Linked DNA regions of Homo sapiens: region 1 is linked to region 2. The links are contacts of gene promoters, found by promoter capture Hi-C in blood cells and fetal thymus (Javierre and others, 2016). All regions are on one chromosome and are shown on one strand. Each heading gives the region's core, a stretch centred on a gene start or on the middle of the fragment in contact. The rest is flanking DNA. Distances are from core to core; before and after follow the strand shown.

Region 1 (5,854 bases), core at 1,206-3,705, 100 kb after region 2:
CCACCACGCCTGGCTAATTTTTTGTATTTTTAGTAGAGACGGTGCTTCACCGTGTTAGCCAGGATGGTCTCGATCTCCTGACCTCGTGATCCGCCCGCCTCGGCCTCCCAAAGTGTTGGGATTACAGGCGTGAGCCACTGCGGCCGGCAAAACAAAAAATTTGTCCTTGTTCACTGATGGCCAAATAAAATGAGGAAACTAGTTTTACATTTTTCTGCATGTTTTGAAGGTAACTCCACTATCCCAACACACTAGAATGTAAGCTCCATAATGGCAAATATTTTTGTCTGTCTTGTTCACTACTATATCCCAAGCAACCAGAACAGTGCCTGACATAGATTAATCATTTAATAGATATGTTAAGTAAATGAATGAATGAACTGACTCAGTAGATGAAAGATGTCTTTCTTGTATTAAGTGAAAAACAAAACAAAAAAACACGTTGTAAACTATGACCTTGGTTCTGTACTGAAAGTAAGTATTGGCTTGAAAAAAGCACAGTAAACAGTGGCAAATGGTTAACAGTGATGATCTCTGCAGGGTGCAGGAGGATACAGGAGATCAGAGCTTTCTGAAACAATGGAAATTTTTAAAATAATAAACATATATTACTTTTAAAACAGAAAAGAGCGTGTAATATATGTATGGTCATGGATGAGATAGATAGTTCTATCTTCTTAAGGGAAAGCAGGCACTGATCTAGGAATCAAAAGTTTGAGCATGAAAAAAAAAAAAAGTTTGGCCACTACCTGGCTATTAGCACTTGATTTCTTTGAGCCTGTTTCTTCCCAGTAAAATGGAGTTGACAGTGCCTGCTTCACAAAGCCGTTTTGTGAATTAAATGAATCAGAAATCAGAAAGGAATAGCTTAAAAGCTGCAATTTAAAGAACAGGAAAAGATGCCTGCCTACCAATATGCCATGTCCTTTCTTCCCAGGGACCAAAGATCCCTAACCCCTTCCAAGCTTACCTCCTCCACGGGGATGAAGGCGCTGGGCCCTCGAGGGCCTCGCCGAGCCCGGCTCTCCCTCTGCTCCTGGGAGGAAACATATGAGGTTAGTCCGTAGTAGAAGGGAGAATAAAGAGGATTATTACCTATCCAGCCTCTTCCTCCTATCCAAGGGGCTACACTGAAGTGTTAAACCCACCTTTCTAGCATACTTTGGATGGTGGAGCCAGATGGGAGATATACACATGTTTGGAAGGGTAATCAAGAAAGAGGGCTCACTCCAGGCTGAGTTCTTCAGGAACTGGGTTGGGACCCAAGAATCCCAGCATTGCGGGATGGGAGGGTCCTGGAAAAGGAACTATATAGCCATCATGCTGCACATCTCCAGGAGGCCACCTTCTTAGTGGTCCCAGAGAACTTATACAAGAACACACCACAGTTTGCACCCTGAAGCCAGGTAACCAAGTACCCCAGATGCTTCAGAAGCAGCTTCAATTTCTCTCACATGTTCGTTCGTTCCTTCCTTCCTTCCTTTCTTCCTCCTCCTCCTCCTTCTTCCTTCCTTCCTTCCTTCTCCTTCCTTCTTTTGCTTCTTTTTTTTTTTGAGACGGAGTATCGCTCTTGTTGCCCAGGCTGGAGTGCAATGGTGCGATCTCAGCTCATTGCAACCTCTGCCTCCTGGGTTCAAGCGATTCTCCTGCCTCAGCCTCCCGAGTAGCTGGGATTACAGGCATGCACAACCACGCTCACCTAATTTTATATTTTTAGTAGAAACTGGGTTTCTCCATGTTGGCCAGGCTGGTCTCGAATCCCCAACCTCAGGTGATCCGCCCACCTCAGCCTCCCAAAGTGCTGGGATTACTGGAATGAGCCACCACGCCTGGCCTCTTCTTTAGTGGTGCAGTCATAGCTCACTATAGCCTCAAACTGCTGGGCTCAATGGATCCTCCTGCCTTGGCCTCCCAAAGCACTGGGATTACAGATGGGAGTCACCATGCCTGGCTGCTTATCTGTCCTCCCACCACCACCACCTCATTAACTACCACCCCCTCTTGTCTGGACCACTACTCACAACCTCGCCAGTTGTCCCCCGGCCTCCTTAGCCCTGGCCTCTCCTATCCATCCTCTACCCAGTAGCCACATTAACTTTCTGAATATAAATCCGATCAACTGGCTTAAAACCCTACCTCCCCCTCCCATGGGCTTCCAGATACAACTGGCCCAGTCCCAGTGGTCACTCCTTTTGCAAAGCTAAACCACAATAGTCTAGGAACCTTTTTCTGGCCCTCACCTATGACCCCAAAATTCCCAGGGCTTTTGCTTCTAAAAACACTGTCATCAAATTGTCTGTTTTGTTTCCCTGACACCAGATCACATTTAGTGGAGAGCAGCGCCAGGTCATTCATACTAGTCTGTGAATGAAGACAGAGAAAGCAGAAAGGCACGGAGGGAATCTGAGCAGGGTGTACAAGGCTGATGGGAGCAACTGTTTTGACCTGTTATATGCTGCAGCCTCTTTAGAAACCACTAATATCAGGTACTCACTACATCTGCTTCTCCTAGTCCTAGAGATGGGGTTCAGGAAGGATGCTCTACTTATTAATTTATTTTGTTAATCTGAGAGTGGAGGTGGCTCTCAGCACTGGTCTTGTTTACAGTTTACCCAAATCAGAGCCATGCTCTCACTGGACAGGGATAGGAGGCGCCCAGTTCTCCCCTTCCCATTAAGATCCAGACTTAGTACCAGCCCTCAGGTATCCGGGAACCAAAAACTATAATTGAACCTTCCTTCTCAGATGGCCAAAAGCCCACTGAGGAGGCAGAGCTCTGGGACTCCAGAAGACTACAAAGTCTCTGGAATAGGTACCAATTCTGCAACTAACTTGCTATGTGGCTCTGGGAAAGTTAAAGGCCTAAACTCTCTTTACCTACTAAACTGGTAGGTAAAGTAGCCCAGCTACCTTCAAAAAGGGAGTTGAGCTGACCGTGCAGGCCCCCTTCAGCCCACACTTCTGGGAACTTCCGGGCCAGGCTGGTCCAAGTTCAGCGTAGTAACCAACACAATCCCTGAGCACTCCCCTTTGGAGCTTCCCTCCCCCTCACCAAAGAAAAAGCCCAACAGCTCTGTATAGGAGATAAGGATTGCTGACTCCACAAACTGGGCCTCCACCTCAGGGGACCTGAGGACAGAATAGCAAGCCACAGCAGGGTAGGGTGGAGCAAAACTGGGGGAGGCAGAGACGGCCCATCAGGGGTGCTAGGGAAGGATAGGAATAGCCTTGGGAATCCCAACTCACTCCAAAATCTGACCCAGGAATTGTCAAAAGAAGGAGCTCTAAGTCATCGGTCTGGATCCATCAACACTTTCAGCAATAACAACAACAACAACAATATACAATGCAGTTAAAAGATAGGGGCCCTTGGCTGGCGCAGCAGCTCATCCCAGCACGTTGGGACACTGAGGCAAGAGGATCGCTTGAGGCCAGGAATTCGAGACCAGCCTGGGCAACACAGTGAGACCCCTGTCTCCACAAACAGTAAATTAGCTGGGCATGGTAGCACACAACCTGTAGTCCCAGCTACTCAGGAGGCTGAGGCAGGAGGACTGCCTGAGCCCAGGAGTTTGAGGTTACAGCAAGCTATGATCGCACCACGGCATTCCAGCCTGAGCAACAGGGCAAGACCCTGTCTCAAAAAAAAAAAAAAAAAAAAAGATGGGGCTCTTGACACAAATTGCATGAGCTCAAATGACAGCTCCACCACCTGCTATCCCTTAGCTTTATGAGCCTCAGTTTCTTTACCAAATAATGGGGATAGCAGTAACTACTTCCACTGGCCAGTGATGAGGATTTCATGAGATAACACTGTGTAGCTTACCTCAATACCTCCATAACAATAAGCACTTAATAAAAAGTCAGGTATCATTAACCTCCTTGCTGTATCAAACAAGGGCTTCTCAACCCAAGCGGTACATTAGAATCCTTTGAGAAGCTTTACAAAAATAACAATGCCAAGGTCCCACCTCCCGCAATTCTAATTTAGTTATCTGGGGTGGGGCCCCAGCATAACAGCCAGGGTGAGGACCATTGTTTACACCATTTATTGATCACTTTCTCAAGTATAAGGCACTATGCTAAGTGCTTTCTAGGTGGAAACAGAATTAATTTGTTCACTCAACAAATATTTTTGATGGCTATATTGCAAGCAGCAAGAATACAGCAGTGAAAAGACAAAGCCCTTGGCCTTCATATAATTCAGAATCTGATAAACAGGATTTCAAAGCACAGATTCTATAAAGTGAGTGAAATAAACAGTAACTGTATGATGGGGAGGGAGAGTGTGCAATATTTTAGTGTAAGTAGACAGGAGAAGCCATTGAGGAGGTGGTCTTTGAGCTGTTATCTAAATGATGAGAAGACAGCAAGGCCTGTAAAGATCTAGGGGGCCTAAGTGGGGTGGTTCACACCTGTAACCCCGGTACTTTGGAAGGCTTGGTGGTGGAGGATCACCTGAGGCTAGGAATTTGAGAACAGTCTGGACAACACAGCAGGACACCCTCTCTTAAAAAACAAACAGGCCGGGCGCAGTGGCTCACGCCTGAAATCCCAGCACTTTGAGAGGCCGAGGCAGGCGGATCACCAGAGGTTGGGAGTTCGAGACCAGCCTGACCAACATGGAGAAACCCCGTCTCTACTAAAAATACAAAAAATTAGCCAGGCATGGTGGTGCATGCCTGTAGTCCCAGCTACTCGGGGGGCTGAGGCAGGAGAATTGCTTGAACCCAGGAGGTGGAGGTTGTGGTGAGCTGAGATCGCACCATTGCACTCCAGCCTGGGCAACAAGAGTGAAACTCCGTCTCAAAACAAACAAACACACACCCCAAAAACTAGGGGGACCAGCATTCCAGCCAGAGGGAACGCGAGTATAAAGCCCTGAAGGCAAAACCAAGTAGATTTGAATCCATGGCTCCAATACCCTGAATGCTTCCCCGATCCTGACAGAGGAAGCAGGCAGGGCAGCATACCACTGCCAAGAAATGACCCCTCCAAGTCAGCCCTCCCTGCCCAATTCCCTGGACTGGGGAGTCAGTAATAACAATGGTGCATAACAAGGCTGGTTACCACTGGCTAAGCATTAATTTCACATGCACTACCTGGACTTTAGGGCAGAAGCTACTACTAGGGCTTCCATTTTACAGATGAGGAACAAGGCTCAGAGAGGTCAACTCACTTCTGGCTACTCAGGCAGGAAGGCAGTAGCAGGGCTGGGATACAACCCAGGTTTCTGCAAGTGCAGAAATGATTCCCCATTCTCTAAACTTCTCAAGGTCTCAATAGTCTCCAGGCTGCTGCATCTGGGACTCACCAAGAATGAGAAGCTCCAGTCACAGCACCTGTCACACTTGGGGGCACACACTGAATCTAGTTCTTTGTTGTTACCCCAGTGCCTAGCATAGCACAGTCCAACAGAATTTTCTGCGATGATGGAATGTTTTATATCTGTACTGTCCAAGAAATGTGAGTCTCTAGTCACTGTGGCTGAGCATTTGAAATGTGACAAATGCAACAAAAAATTTTCATTTTATTTAATTTTAATTTATCTAAATTTAAATAGCCACATGTAGTGAGGGGTTACCATATTGGATGGTACAGGTTCAGTAGACCTGATAAAGGCATGATTCCAGTTCCACGTAACAGAACAAGAAAAGTGCAACACAGAGGGGTCAGGTCACCTGTCCAAAATAACAGCTAGTGTGGGACAGAGGGAGAACCAGTGTTGGGTATTTTTATAATTTCAACTAAACAGATCACATGGGGCAACAGGAACACTAAAGTTAACCCTTTAGGTGGTCATTCAACATGAAGGTCTTCACACAAACTGTAAAAAGAGGATAATGGCCCCAGA
Region 2 (6,724 bases), core at 940-3,439:
TGAGCAACAGAGCAAGACTCTATCTCAAAAAACAAATACAGTATTCTTTATCTTAAGGTTTAATACCAGCACTTTGGGAGGGAGGATCACTTGAGCCCAGGAGTCCAAGACCAGCCTGGGCAACAGAGTGGGACCCCAATCAATACAAAAATTTTTTTAAAAATTTTTTTAATTAGCTGCGCTGGTGGCCTGTGTCTGTTGTCCCAGCTACTCTGGAGGCAGAGGCTTGAGCCCAGGAGGAGGTCCAGGCTGCAGTGAGCAGTGCTCAACTCACTGCACTCCAGCCTGGGAAACCCAGCGAGACCCTATTTCAAAAAATAAATACATAAAAATTGGCCAGGCACGGTGGCTCACGCTTGTAATCCCAGCACTTTGGGAGACCGAGGCGGGTGGATCACCTGAGGTTAGGAGTTCAAGGCCAGCCTGGCTAACATGGTGAAACCTTGTTTCTACCAAAAATACAAAAACTAGCTGGGCATGGTGGCACACACCTGTAATCCCAGCTACTCAGGAGGCTGAGGCAGGAGAATCGCTTCAACCTGGGAAGTGGAGGTTGCAGTGAGCCAAGATCGTGCCATTGCATTCCAGCCTGGGTAACAAAGTGAGATTGTCTCAAAATAAATAAATAAATATAAATAAATTAAATTAAATAGTCGGGCACAGTGGCTCATGCCTCTAGTCCCAGGCATCTGGGAGCCTCTGGTGGAAGGATGGCTTAAGCCAAGAAGTTCGAGGCTACAGTGAACTAGGAGCTCTCCACTGTACTCAAGCTTCAGCAACCAAGCTAGACTCTTGTCTCTTAAATGAAACAAACAAACAAATTTTACCTTAAGCTGATTCTAGCAATGCAGTCTTCCAACAGGAGGACATACACAGTTACCATTATCTAGCCAAATTTGATCGAATCCACAATCCACGCAGTTCCGCGGTTTCCGGTAAGAATCTACCACACCTCATCCCCTAAACTGGCTTCATTTCTAAACGGGCTTCATTCCTTTTTTTTTTAAGATGGGGTCTTGCTGTGTTGCCCAGGCTGGTCGCGAACTTCTGGCCTCAAGCGATTCTCCTGCCTCAGCCTCCAGAATAGTTGGCATTACAGGCGCGCGCCACCACGCCCGAAATTCATTTCTTTAATTTGGCGAAAAAGTAAGTGACTTCTAGAAGCCACTGGGTTTCTGGTTCCTCTATAAAGCAAATTCTTCCACTGAAGGACTTTTTCCTTCCACTGTTTGTTTTAAAAAGAACAAGAAAAGGAAGAGGTTGGAAGGAGCGAGGAGCTGAGTGTCCGAATGAAGCACTGGAGGGTTTTTTTTTTTTGCAAGCAATCAGTGATGCCCTGTAAGTCACTCTCCTCCGAGATTTGGGAGGTGCGTGAACTGCCATTCTACCATTCACCACTGGTTCTTTGGTCCACCGATCACAGATGTGAGCTGCACAGACATCGCAGCAAATTCGATGCCTTCCCGGTTTCCCGGAGCCGGGGTGTAGAGGGTGGGAGAGAGGGGTCGCTTCTTTTCCTTAATCTCATCTCTCCACCAAGAAAAACGTCGGGAGTTTCGTGCCCTGAAGCCGCCCAGGCTGATGTTTGAAAGTTAAATAATAACCTCCAGGTTTTTACAGAAACTCCGCCTGGCTCCGAAGCCCCCGTTCTGCCCAGCAGGGGTGCAGAGGTCTGAGGCAGGACGGTTTTGAAAAATGTACTTTGACCCGATCCGGTTACTGTAACCGGATCCCCAGGGAGCAGTCCCTGTTGGGGACCGGGGGAACAGGCTCCCCCGTGGCGGAGACTCCATGCACGGACACAAAGGGGGAGCAACGCAGCCCAGACAAAAGGGCCCAGCCAAGTCTCGGGGGGCGGAGAGGGCGAGCCTGCGCGGGCCCTGCCTCAGGCGGAGAAGCCCGGGTTGGACCGTTGTGGGAGGGCCGAGGAGGGAGGCGGCGGCCCCGCCCCGCCCTGGCCCGAAGCGACGGCGACCCGGGCCGTTACCTTCTGCCCGGACCGGGACCCTCTCGCAGAGCCAAGAAAGGGGCCGCAGCCTGAGAGGAGGCCGCAGCCTGATACTGAGCGCGTCCTGCTCACTTTCCCTTGCTCGCTGAACTTACCCAGATCTCCGCCGCCGCCTCCTCAGCCTCCACAGCAGCCTCTCCCGGAAATCCTACCTGGCCCGTTGGCCGCCAGGCAGCAGCCGGAGCCCTTGGCCCCCGGGGAGGGGGAAAAAGGGAGCCGGCTGGACAGTGTAGGGTAGGACGTGCCGCCGCGGAGGCTTACGGGACTTGTAGTCCCCAGCAGGGGCCGGTTGCCCGGCAAGCTGAACAAAATGGCGGGAAGCGTGCGTCCTTTCTCTCCGGGCGGTCGTCCTCCTTACGACCTCTCTGGGCATGCGCTGGCCGCTCTGCGCACCTTGTGTGTAAAAGAACTTGGGCACCTTTCCTGGTACTATGGGAGGCAAAGGTCTTTGGGCTTGGGAGGACAGGGTTCAATACTGGGCTCCAGGCAGTACCCAAAAAGGGAACTGATACAAGAGTGTTGTTTGAGAAAACTGTATCCCTGACTGGCCAAATTTCAATCATAACCTCCCCAAAGGAAAAACTATTTATTGAGGACCAATTTGAAGTGCAAAAAACGTACAAGCAAGTTATCTACCCTCAGTGTTGTGCGTAAGAAACCCAGGAATCATTCTGGACACTTCCCTCAAGCCATTAAGTCCAGTCATTCTACATCCCCAGTATTTTAATTCATTTCGATATCCTTCACTACTATCACCTAGTGAAAGCCACCATCACTTCTCTCCAAGTCTCAGTAGTTTCAGGCCCTAGGCTATCACCCTCCGAAAACCTTCCTTGCTGCTGCCAGAGGACCCTTCTAAATGCAAACCCATTGTATCACACAACCTAAATTAGACCTACATGTAAAACTTGAAGCTACGGCACATCTAGAGGACATTCCAGGAGAAAAATCGATGTGACTTTTCAAATACACTATCCATAAAATTAAAAAAATTGGCCAGGCGCGGTGGCGCATGCCTGTAATCCCAGCTACTCAGGAGGCTGAGGCAGGAGAATCGCTTGAACCCAGGAGGCGGAGGTTGCAGTGAGCCGAGATCTTGCCATTGCAGTCCAGCCTGGGCGACAGAGCAAGACTCCGTCGCAAAACAAACAAACAAACAAACAAACAAATTATCCGGGGCCTAGTGCCAAGCTCCTGTAGTCCCAGCTACGTGGGAGGCTGAGGTGAGATGATCACTTGAGCCTGGGGGGTCGAGATCGCACCAGTGCACTCCAGCCTGGGCAGCAGAGCAAGACCCTGTCTCAATAGAAAAAGAAAAAAGAAGAAAAAAAAATTGGCCGGGTGCAGTGGCTCACACCTCTCATCCCAGCACTTTGGGAGGCTAAGGCGGGAGGATCCCTTGAGCCCTGGAGTTTGAGACCAGCCTGCCAGCCTGGGCAACAGAGTGAGGCCCCATCTCTACAAAAACAATTTTAAAAATTAGCTGGGCATGATGGAACGTGCCTGTAGTCCCAGGTACTCAGGAGGCTGAAATAGGAGGATTATTTGAGCTGGGGAGGTCCAGGCTGCAATGAGCTGTGATGGTGTCGCTACACTCCAGCCTGGACGACAGAGGGAGACCTTGTCTCAAAAAAATATTTAAAATATATTTATTGGCCTGGCACGGTGGCTCACGCCTGTAATCCCAGCACTTTGTGAGGTTGAGGCTGGTAGATCACCTGAGGTCAGGAGTTCGAGACCAGCCTCTCCAAAATGGTGAAACCACATCTCTACTAAAAATACAAAAATTGGCCGGGCACGGTGGCTCACACTTGTAATCCCAGCACTTTGGGAGGCTGAGGCGGGCGGGTCACGAGGTCAGGATATCGAGACCATCCTGGCTAACGCAATGAAACCCTGTCTCTACTAAAAATACAAAAAATTAGCCGGGCGTGGTGGAGGGCGCGTGTAGTCCCAGCAACTCGGGAGGCTGAGGCAGGAGAATGGCGTGAACCCGGGAGGCAGAGCTTGCAGTGATCTGAGATCGCGCCACTGCACTCCAGCCTGGGCAACAGAGCGAGATCCCGTCTTAAAAAAAAAAAATACAAAAATTTATTGGGCGTGATGGCCCACCCCTGTAATCCCAGCTACTCAGGAGGGTGAGGCAGGAGAAGCGCTTGAACCCAGGAGGCGGAGGTTTCAGGGAGCCGAGATCGCACCATTGCACTCCAGCCTGGGTTACAAGAGGGAAACTCAGTCTCAAAAATAAAATTAAAAAATATATTTTTTTAAATTAATAGGCTACACATGATAACTCATGCCTGTAATTCCAGCACTCTGGAAGGCCAAGGCTGGAGGGCTGGTTGAGACCATGGGTTCAAGACCAGCCTGGGCAACACAGTGAGACTCCATCTCTAAAATATAAATAAATAAATTTTAAAAAGAAAAAAATTGCCGGGCGTGGTGGCTCACGCCTGTAATCCTAGCACTTTGGGAGGCCGAGGCAGGTGGATCACAAAGTCAGGAGATTGAGACCATCCTGGCTAACACGGTGAAACCCCATCTCTACTAAAAATACAAAAAATTAGCTGGGCGCGATGGCGGGCTCCTGTAGTCCCAGCTACTCGGGAGGCTGAGGCAGGAGAATGGCGTGAACCCGGGAGGCAGAGCTTGCAAGTGAGCCGAGATCTTGCCACTGCACTCCAGCCTGGGCAACAGAGCGAGACTCCGTCTCAAAAAAAAAAAAAAGAAAAGAAAAGAAAAGAAAAAAATTGAATAAATTGTATATCATCAAAATTTCAAACTTTAGTCAAGACTGTTATGAAAATAAAGATAAAACCGGGCGCGGTGGCTCACGCCTGTAATCCCAGCACTTTGGGAGTCCGAGGTGGGCAGATCACGAAGTCAGGAGATCGAGACCATCCTGGCTAACACAGTGAAACCCCGTCTCTACTAAAAATACAAAAAATTAGCCGGGCGTGGTGGTGGGCGCCTGTGGTCCCAGCTACTCGGGAGGCTGAGGCAGGAGGATGGTGTGAACCTGGGAGGCAGAGCTTGCAGTGAGCGGAGACTGTGCCACTGCACTCCAGCCTGGGCGACAGAGCGAGACTCCGTCTCAAAAAAAAAAAAAAAAAAAAGAAAAGAAAGATAAGCTGGCCAGGCTCAGTGACTCACCCATGTAATCCCCACACTTTCAGAGGCTGAAGCGAGTGGATCACCTGAGGTCAGGAGTTCAGGACCAGCCTGGCCAACATGGTGAAACCCCATCTCTATTAAAATACAAAAAAATTAGCCAGATGTGGTGGTGCATGCCTGTAATCCCAGCTTCTTGGGAGGCTGAGGCAGGAGAATTGCTTGAACCCAGGAGGCTGAGGTTGCAGTGAGCAGAGATTGCGCCATTGCACTCCAGCCTGGGCAAAACTCCGTCAAAAAAAAAAAAGAAAGAAAGAAAGAAAGAAAAGAGAGAAAGAGAGAGAAAATGAAGACAAGCCACAGATCAGAGTAAAATTGCGCAAAACATGTAACCATTACCTGGAAATATACAGAGTTATTTCAACTCAACAAGAAGACAAACAACCCAATTTGAAAAACAATTAGCAGAGACAATTTACCAAAGAGAGAAACTAAATGGATGGCAAATAACATGAAAGATGTTGGGGGGAAAAAAGGAAACGCAATGAGATTACACTACACACCCACCAGAATGGCTGAAAGGACTGGCAATACCAAGTATTAGCATGAATGTAGAGCAACAACAATTCTCATACACTGATGGTACCATTTTAAGGTGATAAAACCGCTTTGGAAACTGGTTTGGCAGGTTTTTTTTAATATCCTGATTGTGGTTATGGTTTCAAGGGTGTATGGTTATGGTTTCAAGGTTGTATAAATATATCAAAACTCGTCAAGGCTGGGTGCAGTGGCTCCTGCCTGTAATCCCAGCACTTTGGAAGGTTAAGGCAGGCAGATCGCTTGAGCTCACTAGTTCGAGACCAACCTGGACAACATGGCAAAACCCTGTCTCTACAAAAAAAAAAAAAATACAAAAATTAGTCTGGGCGCGGTGGCTCACGCCTGTAATCCCAGCACTTTGGGAGGCCGAGGCAGGTGGATCACAAGGCCAGGAGATCAAGACTATCCTGACTAACACAGTGAAACCCCATCTCTACTAAAAATACAAAAAAATTAGCCAGGCCTGGTGGCGGGCACCTGTAGTCCCAGCTATTCAGGAGGCTGAGGCAGGAGAATGGCATGAACATGGGAGGCAGAGCTTGCAGTGAGCCGAGTTTGCGCCACTGCACTCCAGAGCCTGGGTGACAGAGCGAGACTCTGTCTCAAAAAAAAAAAAAAAAAACAAAAATTAGTCAGGTATGGTGATGGGCACCTGTAGTCCCAGCTACTTGGGAGACTTAGTTGTGAGGATAGCTTGAGCCTGGGAGGTGGAGGTTGAAATTGTTGTAACCAAGCGAGTTATAGAGAAATGCCACACTTTGAGACAAATTAAAGAGTCCTTTATTAGCCGGCAATCGAGAGGCAGCTAATGCCCAAAATTCTCTCGGCCCCGAGGAAGGGGCTAGGTTAGTTATTATACCTTGGTCTAAATAGGGGTGGGGGGCTTTTAACTGAAACAATTTTTACAGAAGCAGAACTGGCAAAAGGTTAAAAAATTAATTGGTTACAAATGCAGTTACAAAAAAATAAACAGTTCCAGGTGCAGGAACTTAAGCTATCACAAAG

What was found. Contacts are between HindIII fragments. The CHiCAGO score rates a contact against its expected background, and 5 or more counts as called.
Region 1: a contact is called between a fragment that was not itself captured here and the fragment with the promoter of PHACTR4 in region 2, in 1 of 17 cell types (M1 macrophages). The highest score is 6.3, in M1 macrophages.

The regions. Positions count from the first base shown.
Region 1 is chr1:28,264,365-28,270,218 of GRCh38, reverse strand. It overlaps SESN2 (sestrin 2), which reads right to left. Exons shown (of 10, transcript NM_031459.5): 2 at 971-1,036. Among named protein-coding and RNA genes, the nearest start is that of SESN2, 7.8 kb to the right of the region's middle. The HindIII fragment of the contact is 2,975 bases long and covers 968-3,942 here.
Region 2 is chr1:28,365,205-28,371,928 of GRCh38, reverse strand. It overlaps PHACTR4 (phosphatase and actin regulator 4), which reads right to left and starts at 2,189. Exons shown (of 14, transcript NM_001048183.3): 1 at 2,104-2,189. RefSeq lists a silencer at 1,816-2,035 and enhancers at 2,117-2,411, 2,062-3,017. The HindIII fragment of the contact is 7,867 bases long and covers 773-6,724 here.